2 separate regions of the Homo sapiens genome follow, and region 1 is linked to region 2. The links are contacts of gene promoters, found by promoter capture Hi-C in blood cells and fetal thymus (Javierre and others, 2016). All regions are on one chromosome and are shown on one strand. The core of a region is centred on a gene start or on the middle of the fragment in contact, and the rest is flanking DNA. Distances in the headings are between cores, read along the strand shown. Region 1 holds the start of GABPB1 (GA binding protein transcription factor subunit beta 1). Region 2 holds the start of SLC12A6 (solute carrier family 12 member 6).

Evidence for each region. Contacts are between HindIII fragments. The CHiCAGO score rates a contact against its expected background, and 5 or more counts as called.
Region 1: a contact is called between a fragment that was not itself captured here and the fragment with the promoter of SLC12A6 in region 2, in 1 of 17 cell types (non-activated CD4 T cells). The highest score is 5.4, in non-activated CD4 T cells.

The regions. Positions count from the first base shown.
Region 1 is chr15:50,351,884-50,355,764 of GRCh38, reverse strand. GABPB1 (GA binding protein transcription factor subunit beta 1) reads left to right here and starts at 567. Exons shown (of 9, transcript NM_016654.5): 1 at 567-780. GABPB1-IT1 (GABPB1 intronic transcript) reads left to right here and starts at 886. Exons shown (of 1, transcript NR_026891.1): 1 at 886-3,881. It overlaps GABPB1-AS1 (GABPB1 antisense RNA 1), which reads right to left and starts at 1,591. Exons shown (of 1, transcript NR_024490.1): 1 at 1-1,591. RefSeq lists enhancers at 14-93, 162-785, 1,524-1,583 and silencers at 294-343, 924-1,173, 1,184-1,393. The HindIII fragment of the contact is 954 bases long and covers 774-1,727 here.
Region 2 is chr15:34,336,475-34,339,997 of GRCh38, reverse strand. SLC12A6 (solute carrier family 12 member 6) reads left to right here and starts at 2,217. Exons shown (of 26, transcript NM_001365088.1): 1 at 2,217-2,666; 2 at 3,246-3,523. The coding sequence starts at 3,318. RefSeq lists a silencer at 1,803-2,362. The HindIII fragment of the contact is 4,998 bases long and covers 276-3,523 here.

The DNA of each region.
Region 1 (3,881 bases), core at 1-2,500, about 16 Mb before region 2:
TTCACAGCGTCTCCCGTCCCAGTCTGCCTAGTTGAATCTAGGGACACTTAAAGGTAAATCCTAGCCTCTTGGCTGTCCTTCCGTCTCCCAGGATTCTGCTAGGCCGCACAGTTGGCAAGCTTAAAACTCCAAAGATTCCGCACTCTCCGTCTTTCAACAGTCATGTCACAGAGACACGAAGGTTAGCACAGGAACATTAGTTTCCAAACTCCTACCCACCGCAGAACAGGCGGGAAGGTTCGGTGGCCACCCGGCCTCTCCGCCGCGCACATGGCCGTCCGCAGCTCCCACCCCCGCTGCCGCGCAGGCGCCGGGCGAGCCGGGACTTGCGGTCGCCGAGAGCGGATCATTCCGCCGCTTTCTTTGTGTGGCTGAAGCGCTAGAAATGGCATATTTTCTTTCCCTTCGTTAAAAAATCAGACCCTCTTTCCCCTCTCTCCCCGCGGGAACACAGCTAGGGAGTGGGTAGGAGCAGGATCTGCCGACGAGGGCAGAGGCGGAAAATCCTCGGGCGATGAGCTGAAGAGGGCCGGGTCCGGGAGGGATGCTGGGAGCTTGACTCACTCGCACACCATGTGTCCCTCCGCGCGCAGCACGGGGGACTTTTCGGTGGGGATTTTGGGCGCCGACCAGACGCGGCATTTTCGGAAAATAGCGCCCTGTGCAGCTGAAGCGCTTTGTGTGTAGCGGGGCCGCGTCAGCCCGGCCGGGTACGAGGCGCCTCGGGTCCCCGCACCACCTCCTGCTGCCTTCCCGTCGCCGCTCCCGAAGCTTTTCCAGGTCAGTGCGGGTCTGTGTAGGGCCCTGTTACCACCGGATGTGGAAGTTGATCTCTTCGCTGGTAAAAAATAATTCCACTTCCCCCGGAACCCAGATCATCCCCGCGATTTCCTGTTTATTGCATTAAGGCGCCGGGTTTCCGGGGCTCCTGGCCCCGCTTATTCCGCGGGGGTCGGCGGGGTCGGCCTGGGCGCCCGCGCCGCCGCTGCGCTTTGTCCGCTGGGCACACTGCTTCTGGGAGGGGCGGGCAGACATGGTGGCGGCCGCCGCCCCCTCCTCGGCCCTAGCATGCCGCGGCCGCCTCGCGGCTACCCGGCTTGCCGGTCCCGAGCGGCAGCCCCGGGGTGGCGATGGGGTCGCGCCGAGGCAGCGGAGGTTCTGCGGGCGACTGGAGGTTGGCAGTGGGCGGGAGAAAGAGGAAGGCAGGCGCGGCTGGGCCTCGGCCTCTGGCGCCGCGGTACCCTTTGTCTCGGCAGCCTGACGGCCCCGCCGGGCTCTCCGGAGAGGGGAACGGGCGGCGAGGGTGGCGGGTCCTGGGCGCCCTGTGCTGCGGGGCCGAGAGGCGCTCGGGTCGCGGCGGGATCGGCCGGACCAGACAGGGTTAATGGAAGAGCCTGGCCAGTCCCGCGCGGGGCCCCCGCAGCGACAGCCTTGGCCGCGGGGACTGGAGTCCTGAGGGGGAGAAGCCTGCCGTTCTGAAGGCTCGGGACTTCTGCCCCAAAGACTTCGCCGCCGAGAACTGCGGGTGCACTGCCTCAGGGAAGAAGTTGAGAATTTTGCCAGGTCATCTCTGCCAGGGCACAGTTCATCACTGTGTGTTTAGTGTGTTTCGGTGAAGCTCTCCAAGTGTGTTGAATCAGCGTGCCTAGCCTCAAGGGTGCATCGTGAAAACTGAAACCAAAGGAATGATACAGGCCTGCTTTGTGTGTGTCTTCCCACTTTAAGCTTGTTTTCAGTACAAATACTCTTGCTTTAAACCTGATTGGACTGTGGCGAGCGGACATCTGTTCAAAGGAGGGGCCGAGACCACAGTACTTCTGAAGGGGGCTTGATAATGTGGAAACATTTTAAGTTTTCTCTCCGGACTGTTTTGCTCTCTCAATTCAGGCAAGTTACTGAAGTACGTTTTTTATCTAGAAAAAGGTTTGATGTAGTCTGTAAATGGTCCTTGTAAAGTACATTGCCATCTCAGAATTAAAAGATCCACTCTCATTTATTATGCAGAAGTTAGTGGTCATTCTTTCCTGTAGATAGTTTATCTCATGTAAAGACCCACCCAGCTTGGTTTAAATTTTTTTCTCACTGACGTATAACCATCAGCTTTGATACTTCCATTTTCAGGCTCAGACTTTGAATTTAAGGAAACTAAAGATGACTTTATTTTCTTTTCTCTTGGTTTTTTTTTTCCAAAAACAAAAAATAAATCCATTACATGTTAACATAGATGATAAGAGTGACATCTTGCATTTTTGCAAATCTTTTTAATGCCTGGTTTAATAGAAGATTCTCAGATCTACGTCAGACTGTTGTGGTTAGCACACCATGTAACCTCTGGAACACTCCACTGTACACTCATACTTTTTTAAAAAAAAAACCAAAAAACAGAAATGTGTCATTCTTACCGTGCTTTCACCATACAAGTCAAATCAAGCTGTTATGCAAGACACATTTTAACAAGACTGAATAAGATTGATTCCCATACTTTTTTTACTGGGCTCTAACTTTTTTAAAAGTTGGAATTTAGGTGACTAAACAAAATCACAGATGAAGACTGCATAATCTGCCTATGATCTCGGAGACTCAGGAACATTCGAAGATATTCTTAAGTGATTAAAACATTTAATTCTATTACATATTTATAATGATTTACACAAGTAACACGTGAATTCCACATATGCTATCAACACTTGTGTAAATGTTATCTTTAAAGATAGAACATGTTGAAAATTATAGGAGGTACAGATTTTACAGAAAATTAATTCTGCAGTGAATCCTTTGGTGAAACGAACAGTTTGCAGAGACATATCCTTAGAGTTCTTTGTCTCTCTGAATCATTCTGGGTTTTCTAGGTTGGGAGACAATTATACTTATTGGGAGACAATTATACTTAATTGATTAATGCATAAAAATTTAAGGCCGTATTTTAATGGCTTTGAAAGGAAGCTAAGTTTGTTTCCAGTTGTTTCTGTGAACTGTAGTCTGAATCTGTCAGTCTATAGTTCTCTACTGTTCCATCAACAGGAAGCATCTGGTCATTCTTCGTGTAATTGTTAGAAAATACCAGGTGTACTTTTAATGTTTGCTGTTCAAACGAAAATAGATTGGATCTTGGTTAAGTTCACTTGGTTTGGCCAGGCACAGTGGCTCACGCCTGCAGTCCCAGCACTTGGGGAGGTGGAGGCGGGCCGATCACCTGAGGTCAAGAGTTTGAGACCAGCCTGGCTAACGCGGTGAAACCCCATTTCTACTAAAAATACAAAAAATTAGCTGGGCGTGGTGGTGCGCGCTTGTAATCCCAGCTACTCGGGAGGCTGAGGCAGGAGAATCGCTTGAGCCAGAGAGGCAAAGGTTGCAATAAGCCAAGATAGCGCCATTGCATTCCAGCTTGGGCAACAGGAGCGAAACTCTGTCTCAAAAAAAAAAAAAAAAGTATGCTTGGTTTTAGTGTGTTTTTTCCCATAACATTGTGTCATTGTAATGGACCACATCTCCTGTACCATGAATTTTTTTTTACTTTTTTCTTTTGCCCCTCAGTACCAGAAATATTAACAGGTAACAGGTAAAGTGCACGTCATGAGGAATTCAGAAATTCAGAAATTACATGAAGTTTTGCATCATGAATTTATTTTTGAGGGTGCACGAGGCAGTTACCCAGTCTCTGTTTGCAAGTAGCCTGAGTTCAGATGAACTCACTGATGGCCTCCATCTCTTCTGACTTTGCAAACGTTGAAAAACAAACCCACACAAAATCTTGAAGTTGAGAGCAACTTAGTTTCCTTAGTGTCATCCCTCTGCTCCCCTCTCCTCCCCAACAACTAGTATGGTTTCCAGCTAGTAATCACAATGTTTCTATAGCTCTGATGTGCCTACATTGGGATAGC
Region 2 (3,523 bases), core at 968-3,467:
AATGGGATACTTGTTTCCTGTCAAGCAATTTTATTTCTTAGCTTGTTCACTTACAGGATTGGATATAACATTGGATCTGAAAGATTTTTAAAAGTTATCTTATCCAATTAAGGGGATAATGATTGGAGACATGTTTCTTAAGCACCAAAGTCAGTAAGTGAATTTTGCTACCAGTTTTTTAATGTTGGCTGCAGTTCTGCCTTTATCTTACAAAAAAGAAAAAAAAAAAAGAATTAGCATTGCTCCATGCTACCACCTGTGTAGACTTAAAAGCTTTAACCTGAAAATATTCCTAATGAATATAGAGGAGAGAAAGCAAACTGGCATGAATATAAAAAGGACTTTTTCCATAAGAGATCCCCTGAGGAATGAGGCTTCATTTTGCACCAGAGGCTGTGTCTCCCTGAGAAAATAAAGAGATCCCTGGGGTATTAACGTCTGAGACATACATTTATAGAGCTTGGTTAGTGCTCAGAAACAAGAAAAGTCTTAACAGGGATAGTATATTGGAATTAGGTGGTACATATAAGTAAATGCAGATACACTGGTAGGAAATTGGGTTTCATAAAAATTCTGTGTTTCTTTATAAAGGAAAAGTCTGAAGTTTGAATGAACGGCAGGCCTGCCTGAGGAAAAAATTGATCCTGCTGAGGATGGATGAAAGCTGTGGGCCTGAATCAAGAAACCCAGACTTTATAAAGAGTCAAACTTTAGGAGGTTTACACTTTACATTAGGATTTCTCATTTTGTTACCAGGATCTTTTTAACCTTTTTGATCCTTTAATCCTTGAAAGGATTTGGACTTTGTGTGTCATTTGATAAAAGAGAACTTCCGGGAATACAGTTCCCATTGCTAGGAGTGCTGCTTAAACATAACCACTTGTGAGGAGCCAAGACCCCAGGCAAAACCGGGGGCCAGTTTCTGGGCCCAGGTGATTGTTAAATTTAGAGGTCTTGATCACAGCTATAGGAAATAGCTTTTCAAACAAAACATTGGTGAGTCAGAATTTATCGAACACCACCATTTATACATTAAATAAACACTAAGAAAAAATATTCTAGCGACAAATGTAGTGGTGAAAACATGGAATGGATTTGAGAAAATACATCAACGTCTTCTCCAGGTATAAAAAAACGTATTATTTAGTGGAACTTTCAGTCTGACTAGAAAGTGGACATAGCATTTATTAAAAGGACAAGAACAACAACAAAAAATTAAAGTAGGACAAATGTGTTTAAGGTACTTTATAGTTTTATTTTTATTTATTTATTTCTTTGAGACGGAGTTTTGCTCTTGTCCCCCCAGGCTGGAATGCAATGGTGCGTTCTCGGCTCACTGCAACCTCCGCCTCCCAAGCTCAAGCGATTCTCCTGCCTCAGTCTAAGGAATAGCTGGGATTACAGGCACACGCCACCACGCCCGGCTAATTTTTGAATTTTTGGTAGAGACGGGGTTTCGCTATGCTGGCCAGGCTGGTCTGGAACTCCTGAGCTCAGGTGATCGATCACGCCCGCCTCAGCCTCCCAAAGTGCTAGGATTACAGTCGTGAACCACCGCGCCAGGCCTACTTTATAGTTTTAATTTTTTTTTTTTACATAAAAGTGGTTTATTTGTATGTAGACCTCTACATAAAAATTACAATGAGGGTTATTCCCAGGTATAGGAGCGGTGTTTCTGGTTAAAGAAATCATGAATGATGTTTTCAGAGACACTCATGAAAGAGAAATGGCTCCCCGGGTTCTGAGGGTGAGGAGCAGCGCCCGCCCTCTAGGATGCTTCCAGAGTGAGTGTGCAGCACAGCCGGACCGAGGAAAAGGATTATTCCCCTCTTCACGCGGGTCGGGCCGTGCCCTGGACTACAGCTCCCGTCGTGCCCCTGGCCACTCGTATTCGGCCCCGCCCCGCCTGCCGTGTCCCGCGGCGAGCGCAGGCGCGCTGCACTCGGTCACCGCGGGCTGCGGCGGCTGGGCGGGGCTTTCGGGCGCCCGCGGGACGGTTCCGCCCTCTCACTGCACCCCCGGGCTTCTCTTCGCAAGGTTCACCTCGAATGAGGAACAAGCGGGGAGGGAAGGGAAGGGCTGCGGCGGCGCGGGCGCACCCCGTCGGGCCCGGGGCTGGGGGAGGCCAGGTCACGTAACTGCTGCTCTGGCGTCGGGCCGGGGAGGGGGCGCCAGCCCCGGCAGCGCGAACCCTGCGCGCGCCGCGGCTCTGAAACAGTTACCGGCTAGTAAACAACAGCTGCGCGCGCACCCGCATCAGCTGGCGCCGGGATACTGCACCTGCGACCTCCTTCTCCCTCACCCTGCTGCCCAGTCAGGCCAGCCTGCGTGGCCGTCTCCTCCTCTACTGGGACCCTGAGGAAGAACGACGAGGGGGTGACCTGCGCCGGGGCGGGGGTAGGGGAGAACGCGCCTCCGGCAAAGGGGGTGGCTCGTCCTGTCACACGCAGGAGAAACCTAGCGAGCGGACCGTGGCTCAGTGGACTAGCTACGACTTGCCACGACTCTGAGCTGCAGTCCGAGGTGTCTTGATCCGCTAACCTCCTCCCAGACCCCGAGGACCTTTCTGCTAGGAGAAGAGCGGGCGCGCCACCCCCACCGACCTCTCGGAGACAGGAATCCGCTCTGCCCCTGCATCCTCCTCTGCTCACCCTTCTCTCAGTAGTGTGGGTTATTTTTCCCGTTATGCATGTGCACCTTTCCCACCAGACCCAAGTGGATTGTCGACATCAAAAACACCGGGTGGCTTTGCATACACCTCCCCCCAGCCAGACCTGTGGGGTATTCACCTGATACACAACAGGTGGCCGGGTGTACACCTTTTAGCAATCTGATCCACGCTATAGTCGCCTGATAAAGGTTTGCCTGCACGCACTTCGCCCAACTAGAACCGTGGGACACTCACCAGATAAAGGACTACCTCGACAGGAAACTGGGGGCTGAGGGGAGGGAGGCTTCATCTGCTGCCCTGAGACCATGGCACTGAGCCTTCAGCCCCGGACCAGAGGGGTTAGCTAGGTAGCTCTTCATTCTGAAGGAAAGAAGTCACACAAGATTGGCATTGTTTTGTCTTTTTGTTTTTTGTTTTTTTCTCTCTTAAAAAATATATTCACCTATTGGTGATGCACTTTCTAGGACAGTCGGCTTGAATTCTGAGTAGAAGTATTCTTAGTTGGGGCTTTTTGTGTGGTGTGAATCAAGGTTATTGAAATGTGTTATTTTTCAAGTTATCTTTTGTATTGCAGTCAAAAGTAGCTAGCGTAAGAGGAAGATTTTGCGAGGTTCCCCCCACTTTTTTTGTTCTTAAAAAGAACAAAATGCATCCTCCAGAAACCACCACCAAGATGGCTTCAGTTCGGTTCATGGTGACACCGACAAAGATCGATGACATTCCAGGTTTGTCAGACACCAGTCCGGACCTCAGCTCTCGATCTAGTTCCCGAGTAAGATTTAGCTCCCGGGAAAGCGTGCCTGAAACAAGCCGGAGTGAGCCTATGAGTGAGATGTCTGGGGCCACCACTTC